4 separate regions of the Homo sapiens genome follow, and regions 2, 3 and 4 are each linked to region 1. The links are contacts of gene promoters, found by promoter capture Hi-C in human tissues and cell types (Jung and others, 2019). All regions are on one chromosome and are shown on one strand. The core of a region is centred on a gene start or on the middle of the fragment in contact, and the rest is flanking DNA. Distances in the headings are between cores, read along the strand shown.

What was found. The method cuts DNA at HindIII sites, captures the fragments that hold promoters and counts their contacts. A contact is called where the count stands out against the background at its distance.
Region 2: a contact is called between a fragment that was not itself captured here and the fragment with the promoter of PRRX1 in region 1, in 2 of the 25 tissues and cell types used here (IMR-90 fibroblasts and mesendoderm cells).
Region 3: a contact is called between a fragment that was not itself captured here and the fragment with the promoter of PRRX1 in region 1, in 2 of the 25 tissues and cell types used here (aorta and mesenchymal stem cells).
Region 4: a contact is called between a fragment that was not itself captured here and the fragment with the promoter of PRRX1 in region 1, in 3 of the 25 tissues and cell types used here (bladder, heart right ventricle and liver).

Annotation. Positions count from the first base shown.
Region 1 is chr1:170,662,588-170,665,487 of GRCh38, forward strand. PRRX1 (paired related homeobox 1) reads left to right here and starts at 1,544. Exons shown (of 4, transcript NM_022716.4): 1 at 1,544-1,872. The coding sequence starts at 1,632. RefSeq lists enhancers at 449-976, 2,177-2,900. The HindIII fragment of the contact is 17,405 bases long and covers 1-2,900 here.
Region 2 is chr1:169,947,816-169,950,715 of GRCh38, forward strand. All of the region lies in intron 19 of KIFAP3 (kinesin associated protein 3), which reads right to left. Among named protein-coding and RNA genes, the nearest start is that of SCYL3, 55 kb to the left of the region's middle. The HindIII fragment of the contact is 6,764 bases long and covers 1-2,900 here.
Region 3 is chr1:170,049,380-170,052,279 of GRCh38, forward strand. All of the region lies in intron 2 of KIFAP3 (kinesin associated protein 3), which reads right to left. Among named protein-coding and RNA genes, the nearest start is that of KIFAP3, 24 kb to the right of the region's middle. The HindIII fragment of the contact is 4,078 bases long and covers 1-2,900 here.
Region 4 is chr1:170,120,048-170,122,947 of GRCh38, forward strand. No RefSeq gene overlaps it. Among named protein-coding and RNA genes, the nearest start is that of NTMT2, 24 kb to the right of the region's middle. The HindIII fragment of the contact is 6,375 bases long and covers 1-2,900 here.

The DNA of each region.
Region 1 (2,900 bases), core at 294-2,793:
GAGAGGCGTGAGAGAACTTCCTATTATCATCCCTTTTGTTATTTTTATTACATTATTTAATAGGCTCCCTCTACGGAACCAAAAATAGCCTTAATATGCTTACTTTCTCCCTGTACTCCGCCCCAAACTGTTAGAACAGCAGAAAATTTTTTTTTGGGGGGGGGCGGTTTGGGGGAAGGCAGAAGGAGAAGAAAATTTGATTGTGATGGTGGTGGATTTTTTCCAAATTTCCCCACAGCTGTTATCAAAACATGCAAATGAGATTTTCCAACAGGATCTTAAACAAATCTGGAGGAGTTAATGCCGAAGCAAAATAATCAGCACGTTTGAAGTGACTGTGAGTTTCAGTTTGTCTTTTCTCCCCGTGATATTATTGCAGGGGAATGATAATTAGACCTTTAGAAATCCAAAGGGGCTCTCTTGCTCTCTTCCCTCTCTCATTTCTCTTCTCTCTTTCTCTCTCTCTCTCTCTCCCTTCCTCCCTCCCTCCCTCCCTCTCTCCCTCCCTCTCTCTTGTTCCCTCCCTCTCCCTTTCTCTCTAACTCTGATGTTGGCAAAGGGGGTTTTCTTAATCAGACTGTTTTTTGGTCCCAGGGAAAGGAGGAAGAAGGAGATTGTGATGGAGAAAGGGGGTCTGTGAAACGTCAGGCACAGCACAAAGGCTTTGCCACGTAATTACAGGCTCCTATTAAGTCGAGATCTGCCCTCCCAGGGGTCTCCAATTTTCTTGTATTCCCTACAAAGCCTCCTCTGCATGCCAGTTTGTGCCTTTTGAAGTGCCAGAGAGCTTCTTGATCCAACTGAGAAGGAAAAAGGAGCCCAGCAAGAAGAGGGGGAGAGAGAGAAGGGGAAAGGGGGGAACCCACCAGCACCCTCCGTCGGACTCTTGAAGCCTTTTTTTTTTAATTCTTAATTTTTTTTTTTACTCTTTACAAAAAGTAAAGTGAGAATCCTGCTCTCTAATACATCTGCAAGACATCACCCTCTCCTCCTGAAACTTTAGTCACTCCTGAGAATCCACAGGAGTGCAGAGAGGGGGGAACACGTTTTCTTGAAGATGTTTTAAAGCTGGAACAAGCCTTCTTCTGTTGGTGCTTGAACTCTTGCCTGGGAATAACTTTTTTAACCTTTAAAAAAACCATTCACTTTGATTCTTCTCTCCCACCCCTTCTTCTCTCTTCTTCTGTTTGCCTAACTCCCCCGCCCTGCTGGCCTCCGCTTTCCTCTCTCCCCCTTGTTATTATTTTTAGTCTGTGCGTGTGGACACTTTTGGAGAGTTGGAAGGGATTTTTTTCTCCTGACTTGAACATAGGGTGACTTTTTAATATTGTATTTTACTGTGGATTATCTCTTTGGACCGCGCCGGACTTGGCCTCAGGAAATCAACCAATGCTGCGGAAGGCGGCTGGTGCACAACGCTCTGCTCTACAGAAGGGGGTCCCCCACCCTCTTTTCCAATTTTTTTTTTTTGGCCTTCCTCTCCTTCCCTCCCTCTTCCTCCCTCTCTCTCTCTCTCTCTCCACTACCCCCCTCTTTCTTCCCCACTCGGCTCCTCTCCCCCCTCGCGCCCACAGCGTTTGGTGTTGATTCGAGCGGGAAGAGGGGGGTGGGTGGGATCGGTGGGGGAGACCATGACCTCCAGCTACGGGCACGTTCTGGAGCGGCAACCGGCGCTGGGCGGCCGCTTGGACAGCCCGGGCAACCTCGACACCCTGCAGGCGAAAAAGAACTTCTCCGTCAGTCACCTGCTAGACCTGGAGGAAGCCGGGGACATGGTGGCGGCACAGGCGGATGAGAACGTGGGCGAGGCTGGCCGGAGCCTGCTGGAGTCGCCGGGACTCACCAGCGGCAGCGACACCCCGCAGCAGGACAGTGAGTGAGGGGCGCATGCCCACGGGGGTGTGTGCCCGGGACAGAGGGCGGGGACCCGTGTAGGGCAGCTAGAGCCCGTCCGCGGCCAGAAAGACAAGGTCCTGGGACCAGGAGAGGTGATGGCAGACTTCAAAGGAAGGGCCAGTCACAGGGGAAACCAGATGAGAAAAGCGGGTCTCGGCCGAGGGCATAGCCAAGGAGGACGCTGGAGAGAGGCTCCAAGGTCCGGGGACACTCCGAGGCCCTGCGGTCTCAGGCAGGGACTCTGTCCGCGGCGGACTCTCTTTACTTCGGCTAGGCACCGGCTCGGTTCATCCCGCACGCGGGGCGGCGGGGCTGGGCTGGGAAAAGGTCTTAGCGGGGTGCAAACTCAGAGAGCCAGCGCTGTTTGGGAAAGCAGCAGGTTAAAGATGCTGAGTCGGGTTGGAAGGGCTTCTCTCGGGCAGCGTATGACGGCTTGAGGGAGGGCACCAGGCACAGGGAGCAGGACTTGGCGCTGCTCAGGCTGCACTCTCCACGCGGGCACCGTAAGGCCGGGCGCGACCGGGAGGCCCCGAGAGAACGCCCGGCCCCAGACGCTGGAGCTGCTCTCTGCCCCCTGCTGTTGCCTCTACCGCAAATGGGTTTGAGACTGGCAGAGTCAAAAGCCCGGCTGGCTTGGGAAAACTCGGGCCAAGCAAAGGGAATGTCCTTTAAGGGTGAAACCTGAAATCCAGCCCCGCATGATCCCGCACAGGCGAGCTGCATCCGGGAGGCGCGAGCTTCAGTGCGGAGGCCAGTGTCACCTTAGAGGAGCTCTCCCTATTGGCTCTTAAACGCCCAGAAAAGTCCAGTTTCCCTTCCCCATCCTCACCGACCAACCTCGCGACCCATGAAAATCTCGCTTCGCTAGTGCCTTAAAAAGAGACTGCAATTGTATCCCCATGCCCCCAAGTCTGTAACAGACCGGTCACCCTGTTCATCCCAGGTGACATGTGGCCAGATATGTACAGATACTCCCTCTTCTCCTCGAGGTTGCAAGAGTCTGA
Region 2 (2,900 bases), core at 151-2,650, 710 kb before region 1:
AAAATTAAAAGTTCACTGTGGTAAATCATTTAAAAAGTGAAGAAGTTTATGAAAGGTGGATATTCATTAGTAAATGTATCTATTTTGACTTATTTTAACATTCACATATAAAGTTTACTTAGAGAACCAGTGTAATATAATCTAGTATGTAGACAAAAATCTCATGGCACAAAAATAACGTTGTAAAAATGTTTATTCCACTACCCTCAATGTATCAATTTTCTTTGACACATAATAACTTATTTATCAGTCTTTATGTTTATCTCTGATTATTTCATATGGACAAATTCTTAGAAATAAAGTTATAGAGTAAAAGGAAGTAAACAATCTAAGGCTCTTGTTCTTTATTACCAAATGCCTTTCATAAAGGTTTTATTAAATTCTACAACAGGTGTTTAGGAGTGCTGTTTTGCTTTGATGTGTGGGTATTAGCACTAGAAATTATTTGGCAATTGATAGGTGAAAATGTTATGTCTGCTTTATTTTGTAAACACCATGTCTAGAAAAATGGCTAAGTCAGTTTTTTTGAAAGGCTTCATGAAGCATGTTTTCTGCTGAGAAAAAGTAATATGAAATTCATAAATAATAGAAAAACTATGATCATCTTTGGTAAAAAAAAGTAATAACACACTAAATGAAGCAGTATTTTAGTCAATGATTATTTTAAAAAGATTTTATAGGTTTTTAGCAATTAGGTTAGTTCTTACAATGCTGAACAAATGGTTGGTGTCAATGTCTATCAAAGAAAATGCTTCTGAGAGGTTCTTTTCACTTTTTTGATCCTTCCATCTAATTGCTATGCTATGGCCACAGTAATGAAGATCATTGAACTTAAATTATTAGAACAAATGAGTTTGGGTTATTAATTAAAAATTGATAAAGGACTTATCAAAGAAGGAATTTTGCAGGCATATTTACTTTCCTCTCAATATAAAAGAATTTTTTGCTTGGCCAAATTAAGGGCTGTAAAATAGACAACTTAGTTTCTCTTCTGAATAACTGCTTTGAAACAAACTCATAATATACAGTTCTAGTAATATGTAGTTCTGTAAACACTGCACAATGCCTTTTAGACAGAGAATATGTAATTTTGAGGTTGCTTTCTCAAGGGAAAAAAACAGTAAACTAAATAGCTGAGTATAATTAAGGCAGCCTTACAGCTAAACAAATAAGTCTAATTTTTTTATATGTAGAATTCTAGAATTAAAAAATCATACATTTAAAAATTTGGGTAAAAGATTATTTCTTATATTTTAAAGAAATAATTTTTTAGTTCTCCTCAGTATGATTTTTAAAAGTACAACTAATATCCAACTGTGATTTAATATTTGAAAAAAAAGAGACCAAAATAGAAGGCATATGTATATGTAATATATAATACATATAATGCATAAAAAAGTTAATATTAAAGTACTCTAAGAAAAGAAAAAGAGGCAGGCTATAACACACACATAGAAAATGAAAGTTTAAGAGTCAGATGGCTCAGATAATGCATACATCTAGTTTGTCTTTGACCCCACTGAAATGGTCAGTAAATGACATCACTGTGCCAACCACAAAGAAGAACTCCAGGCTCTCTGAAAAATATTTTTCAAAGCCCCAAGGAAACCTAAGCAGTCTCTGCAATTTTTTTTCCAGTTTATGAAAATTGGATTCCTATAAAAGAAAAATGGACCATTTTTACTGCAACAAAAACTGATTTGTAAAAGCTGGAAGCAGTTTAAAAATACCCTTAACATGCGGTTCTTGTTAGTCTTGAAAAGTAAAAGTTATAATAAAAAAATGGTCCAAAAATATGGTGCAGATACATGGTATACATAACTGGAAAAAAGCTAGTCTTGCTCCTATTATTTTTAATTAGCTTCAAAAGCAAGTTCCACTTTACTTTCTAACACCAGTTCAGATTTTGGGAGGGGAAGATTTACATTTGACGCTCTGGGATTGGCAACTCCATAGCTATTGCCTTAGAGCCCTAATGCATTTTGCATTAGCTCTAAATGTTGGGAAATCCTGGCGCCAAGAGGTTCAAACTGATAGTGACACATGTCTAAAACCCAGGATTCACTGTCCAACTGCCAATATCTATTTTATCAAACATCCAGTCTTCTTATAGAATGGGATAGATGAGTTTAACAGTTTTCACTGTTTCCAATTAAACTGCATTGCTATCTTACAAAAATGAAGGTATTCAGATTAAGAAGGACCCCCTGACTTGGATTTTAAGAAAAATACCAATTTCAACTATTTAAATTCTTCTCTAAATCTGGCTTAGTTTCTCAGATTTTAATACATTCATCCTATTACTGAACCTTGTCATTTTATGAAGAAATAAATAATTTTTCTTTAAACAATTAAAAAAACCCTTGTGTCATACAAATTAGCAATTTGTTATTTATTACATGAATCCACTCAAACTGAAACATTAAGAAAACAGAGAATGAAAAGCCATGAGAACTGGCTGAAGAGTATGCCACTTGGCACTGTCATATTGTTTCGTGTTTTATCCCACATATTGTTATACTTAAATCATTGAAAACAATGGTAATGATAAAAGTTCACCTTTTATACATTAATCAAGTATTACTCTTTCTCCAGATAACTTGACAGTGTTTATTTATCAAAGACATATGAAGAAGAAGCAGGGAAAGAATTTATAAATCATCTGGACCATTTCCCTGATTTAAAGGAAAAACACCCAACAACTCCAAATAGACAATTTAATCTTTTTAAGATATTTAGAGAATCAGCTTTTTCAATATGTAAAGATCAATTCAGCTATTATTCTTTCACAGTTAACACAAATTCTTCATGTTGTCCATTAAGTCTGCTTATTCTCATCTTTACAGTAGAGATGAAGAATGAGTTCAACAACTTCTCTTTAATTAACTTGCATTTCTTGA
Region 3 (2,900 bases), core at 259-2,758, 610 kb before region 1:
CTGTGGGCACAGCTTCAGCAGACTTAATCTTTCCTGCCTGCTGGCTTTGATGAGAGCAGCTGATCCTGACAAGGGAAATTCTCCCAGCACAGCACACCAGCTCTGCTAAGGGATAGACTGCCTCCTCAAGTGGGTCCCTGACCCCCATGCCTCCTGACTGGGAGAGACCTCCCAACAGGGGTTGATAGACACCTCATAAAGGAGATCTCTGGCTGGCATCAGGCCAGTGCTCCCTCTGGGACGAAGCTTCCAGGGGAAGGAGCAGGCAGTAATCTTTGCTGTTCAGCAGCTTCCACTGGTAATACCCAGGAGGACGGGGTCTGGAGTGGAATTGCAGCACACTGCAGCAGACCTGCAGAAGAGGTGCCTGGCTGTTGATACAAAAACTAACACACAGAGAGCAACAACAACAACATCAACAAAAAACACCACCCCCCCCCAAAAAAAACCCATACAAGGGTCATCAGCCTCAAAGATCAAAGGATAAATCCATGAAAATGAGAAAAAAACCAGCGCAAAAATGCTGAAAATCCCAAAACCCAGAATACCTCTTCTCCTCCAAATGATCGCAAGTCCTCTCCAGCAAGGGCACAAAACTGGATGGAGAATGAGATTGACGAAATGCCAGAAGTAGGCATCAGAAGGTGGGTAATAACAAACTCCTCTGAGTTAAAGGAGCATGTTCTAACCCAATGCAAGGAAGCTAAGAACCTTGATAAAAGGTTACAGGAACTGATAACTAGAATAACCAGTTTAGAGAGAAACATAAATGACTTGATGGAGCTGAAAAACACAGCATGAAAACTTCGTGAAGCACATACACAAGTATCAATAGCCAAATCGATCAAGCAGAATAAAGATTAGAGATTGAAGATCACCTTGCTGAAATAAGGCGTGAAGACAAGATTAGAGAAAAAAGAATGAAAAGGAACAAACAAAGCCTCCAAGAAATATGGGACTATGTGAAAAGATCAAACCTATGATTGACTGGTGTACCTGAAAGTGACAGGGAGAATGGAACCAAGTTGGAAAACACACTTCAGGATATTATCCAGGAGAGCCTCCCCAGCCTAGCAAGACAGGCCAACATTCAAATTCAGGAAATACAGAGAACACCACTAAGATACTCCTCGAGAAGATAAATCCCAAGACACATAATCATCAGATTCTCCAAGGTTGAAACAAAGGAAAAAATGTTAAGAGCAGCCAGAGAGAAAGGTCAGGTCAACTACAAAGGGAAGCCCGTCAGACTAACAGCGGATCTCTCTGCAGAAATTCTACAAGCCAGAAGAGAGTGGGGACCAATATTCAACAATTTTAAGGAAAATAATTTTCAACACAGAATTTAATATCCAGCCAAACTAAGCTTCATAAGCAAAGGAGAGATAAAAACCTTTCCAGACAAGCAAATGCTGAGGGATTCTGTCACAACCAAGCCTGCCTTAAAAGAGCTCCTGAAGGAAGCATTAAATATGGAAAGGAAAACCCAGTACCAGCCACTGCAAAAACACACCAAAATATAACGACCAATGACACTGAAGAAACTACATCAACTAATGTGCAAAATAACCAGCTACCAGCATGATGACAGGATCAAATTCACATATAACAATATTAACCTTAAATGTGAATGGGCTAAATGCCTCAATTGAAAGACACAGACTGGCAAATTGGATAAAGAGTCAAGACCCATTGGTGTGCTGTATTCAGGAGACCTATCTCACATGCAAAGACACAGGCTCAAAATAAAGGAATGGAGGAATATTTACCAAGCAAATGGAAAAAAAAAAAAAAGCAGGGATTGCAATTCTAGTCTCTGATAAAACAGACTTTAAACCAACAAAGATCAAAAAAGACAAAGAAGGGCATTACATAATGGTAAAGGGTTCAATGCAACAAAAAGACCTAACTCTCCTAAATATATATGCACCCAATACAGGACCACCCAGATTCACAAAACAAGTTCTTAGAGACCTACACTACAAAGAGACTTAGATTCCCACACAATAATAGTGGGAGACTTTAATACCCCACTGTCAATATTAGGCAGATCAATGAGACAGAAAATTAACAAGGATATTCAGGACTTGAACTCAGCTCTGGATCAAGTGTACCTAATAGACATCCACAGAACTCTCTACTCCAAATAAACAGAATATACATTTTTCTAAGTGCCACATGGCACTTATTCTAAAATCGACCACATAATTGGGAGTAAAACAATCCTCAGCAAATGCAGAAGAATGGAAATCATAACAAACAGTCTCTCAGACCACAGTGCAATCAAATTAGAACTCAGGACTAAGAAACTCACTCAAAACCACATAACTACATGGAAACTGAACAACCTGGTCCTGAATGACTGCTGGGTAAATAAAAAAATTAAGGCAGAAGTAAAGAAGTTCTTTGAAACCAATGAGAACAAAGAGACAACATACCAGAATCTCTGGGACACAGCTTAAGCAGTGTGTAGAGGGAAATTTATAGCACTAAATGCCCACATCAGAAAGGTGGAAAGATCTGAAACTGACACCCTAACATCAAAATTAAAAGAACTAGAGAAGCAAGAGCAAACAAAGTCAAGAGCCAGCAGAAGACAAGAAATAACTAAGATCAGAGCAGAAATGAAGGAGATAAAGACACAAAAAACTCTTCCAAAAATCAATGAATCTAGGAGCTGTTTTTTCAAAAAAATTAACAAAATAGACTGCTAGCTAGATTAATAAAGAAGACAGAAAAATCAAATTGACACAATAAAATATAATAAAGGGGATACCACCACTGATCCCACAGAAATACAAACTACCATCAGAGAATACTACAAACACCTCGAAGCAAATAAACCAGAAAATCTATAAGAAATGAATAAATTCCAGGACACATACACCCTCCCAAGACTA
Region 4 (2,900 bases), core at 127-2,626, 540 kb before region 1:
ACTAAATGATGAAAACACAAGGACACAAAAAGACATCAACAGACAGTGGGGTCTAACTCAGAATGGAGGGTGTGAGGAGGAAGAGGATCAGAAAAAATAACGAATGGGTACTAGGCTTAACGTCTGAGTGATGAAATCATCTGTGCAACAAACTCCCGTGACATGAATTTACCCATAAAACACATGCACATGTACCCCTGAACTTAAAAGAAAAAAAATGCATTTCCAATAAAAATTTAATTTTATTAAAATTATTTATCAAATCTGAAAAATATTGATATTTTGACTTCTTAATTTTGGAGTGATCAGGGTCCTTGGTTATTTGATTATTTTTCTCTATCTAAATTCAGTTCTTTAAATTTCAAACAGTCTTGGGGATTTAAATTCCATTAGTATGCTACTAACTCCTAAATTTATATCTCTAAGCTTCCTCTAAACTCCAGAATTATGAAGCCAATTGCTTCCTCAACATCTCCTCTTCTTTTTCAAAAAATTTCAAATTTTTATTTTTTGTGAGTACAAAGTAGATACACACACACACACACACACACATATGTACCATATATATGAGTTACATGAGATATTTTGATGCAGGTATGCAATGAGTAATAATCACATCAGGGTACATAGGGTATCCATCACCTTAAGCATTTATCCTTTTGGTTTACAACAATCCAATTATACTCTTTTAGTTATTTTTAATTGAACAATTAAATTAATTTTTAATATAGTCACCCTGTTATGCTAGCAAATACTCAGCCTTATTTATTCTTTCTGGCTATTTTTTGCACCCATTAACCATCGCCTCTTCCCCAGCAACCTTCCACCCCAACTCTGTCTACCCTTCCCAGCCTCTGGTAACCATCCTTCTCCTCTCTATCTCTGTGAGTTCAATTATTTTAATTCTTAGCTCCCACAGATAAGTGAGAATATGTGATATTTGTCTTTCTGTACCTGGCTTATTTCACTTAACATCTCCATTTGTATGTCTGACATCTTAAACTCCTGAGGTTTCCTCAAAACCTGCTCTACCAACAGCTTTTTATGTTAGTTGAGGGAAATTCAGCTTTCCCAGTGGTTTGGTCCCTGAGCCTTGACACTGTTCTTGATTATTTTCTTTTCTTTCTTCTTCTTTTTTTTTAATATCCCACATTCACACTGTTAAGAAATCCCACGAGTTTTACCTTCAAACTATATCTGGAATCTAATGAACTCTCACTACCCCACTGCTAAAAATGCTAAAAATGGTTCAAGCCTCCATTCTCTTTTATATGAATTAATGCAGTAGTCTCTTCTCTGGTGTCCCTGAGTCTACAATTCTCACCATATAGTCTATTTTCAATCAATAACCAGAATCATCTTGATAAAATACATTATATAATGTCACTCTTTCATAATCCTGCACAGTTAACTGTGATGCTTAATTTTATGTGTCAATTTGGCTGCGCCATGGTGCCCAGATAGATGGTCCAACATTATTCTGGAGGTTTCTGTCAGAGTGTTTTTCGATGAGATTAACATTTAAATTGGTGGACTTGAGTAAAGCAGATTATCTCTGTAATGTGAGTGAGCCTTGTCCAAACAGTGAAAGGCCTGAATAGAATGAAAGACCAACCTGACCAAGAGGGAGTTCTGCCGACAGCCTTCAGAACTGAACTGTAGCACTGGCTCTTCGTTGGGTCTCCAGCCTGCTGGCCTGCCTTCCAGATTTTGGACTTGCCAGTCTCCATAATCATGTGAGTCAATTCATTAAAATCACCTCTTTTTACTTACACACACACACAAACACACACACACACACACACACATCTATTCATTCTGTTTTTCTGGAGAATCCCAACAGCACCACTTAAAAAGCTTTCCCTTTTAAAATACCAGGATATCTCTTATCAAAACATCTGTTCATTTATCCGGTAAGACAAGAAAAAAGATCAGTTAAAATGAATATTTAGGTTTTCTGTTTTTTCTTTATTTTTTGTGTTTATTTTTCTAATATGTCCCTTTGTCTAAGTTTTCAAAATTATTGACACAAAATATAAATTTTAGATTCTCTATTGCCTCTGTGGTCTTGCCCCATTTTTTATTCTTGATATACTATTTGCAACTTCTGTTTTTTCTTTATCAGTATTTCCAGAAATTTGACAGTTTTATTAATCTTTTAAAAGTATCAGTTGTTAATTTTTAGGTTCTTTCTATTGTTTCTTTGTTTTTTATTATATTAATTTCTGTTTTTATCTTTATATTTTCCGCTGTTATATGTAGAATGTTTAGTTCATTATTTTTCAACCATTTTTAGCAACGTATTTAATTAAGATTATTCATTACATGGATCACAATCCATCATCCAAAACCCTTGGTGTCAAATGTGTTTCAGAATTCACTGATTTTAGATTTTAGAGTGGCAATATGGTTTATAAACTCTATATTATAAAAATCTCCCATGGTATCTGTGCCAATACTCTGGTCATATCTTGGGTTGGTGCAAAAGTTATTGCGGTTTTTGCCATTACAAAGTAATTACAAAGTAACGGCAAAAACGCAATAACTTTTGCACCAATCCGTACATTAAGCTAATAAAGACTATAGTTTGTCTCATATCAGATTGAGTCAGGGTTTCATGTCAAATTTTCTAAAAATTGTTTTTCAGAGCTTTCGGTAATTCAGAATTACAAATGAGGGATTGCACGCTGTATTGCTTTAGGTTTGTCTCAAAAGTGACTCTGTTGTTGCTTAATCCTAAAATGTTCTAATTTTCAAAATGACTTACTGGTGAACCCATAATGTGGTTAGAAATAAGCTATTTAGTTTCCAATGTATGGAGATTTGGGGGTGATCTTTTAATTTTTTGAGGTATAATACAGATATATGCTCCAATCTTAAGTGTACCATTCAACCAGTTT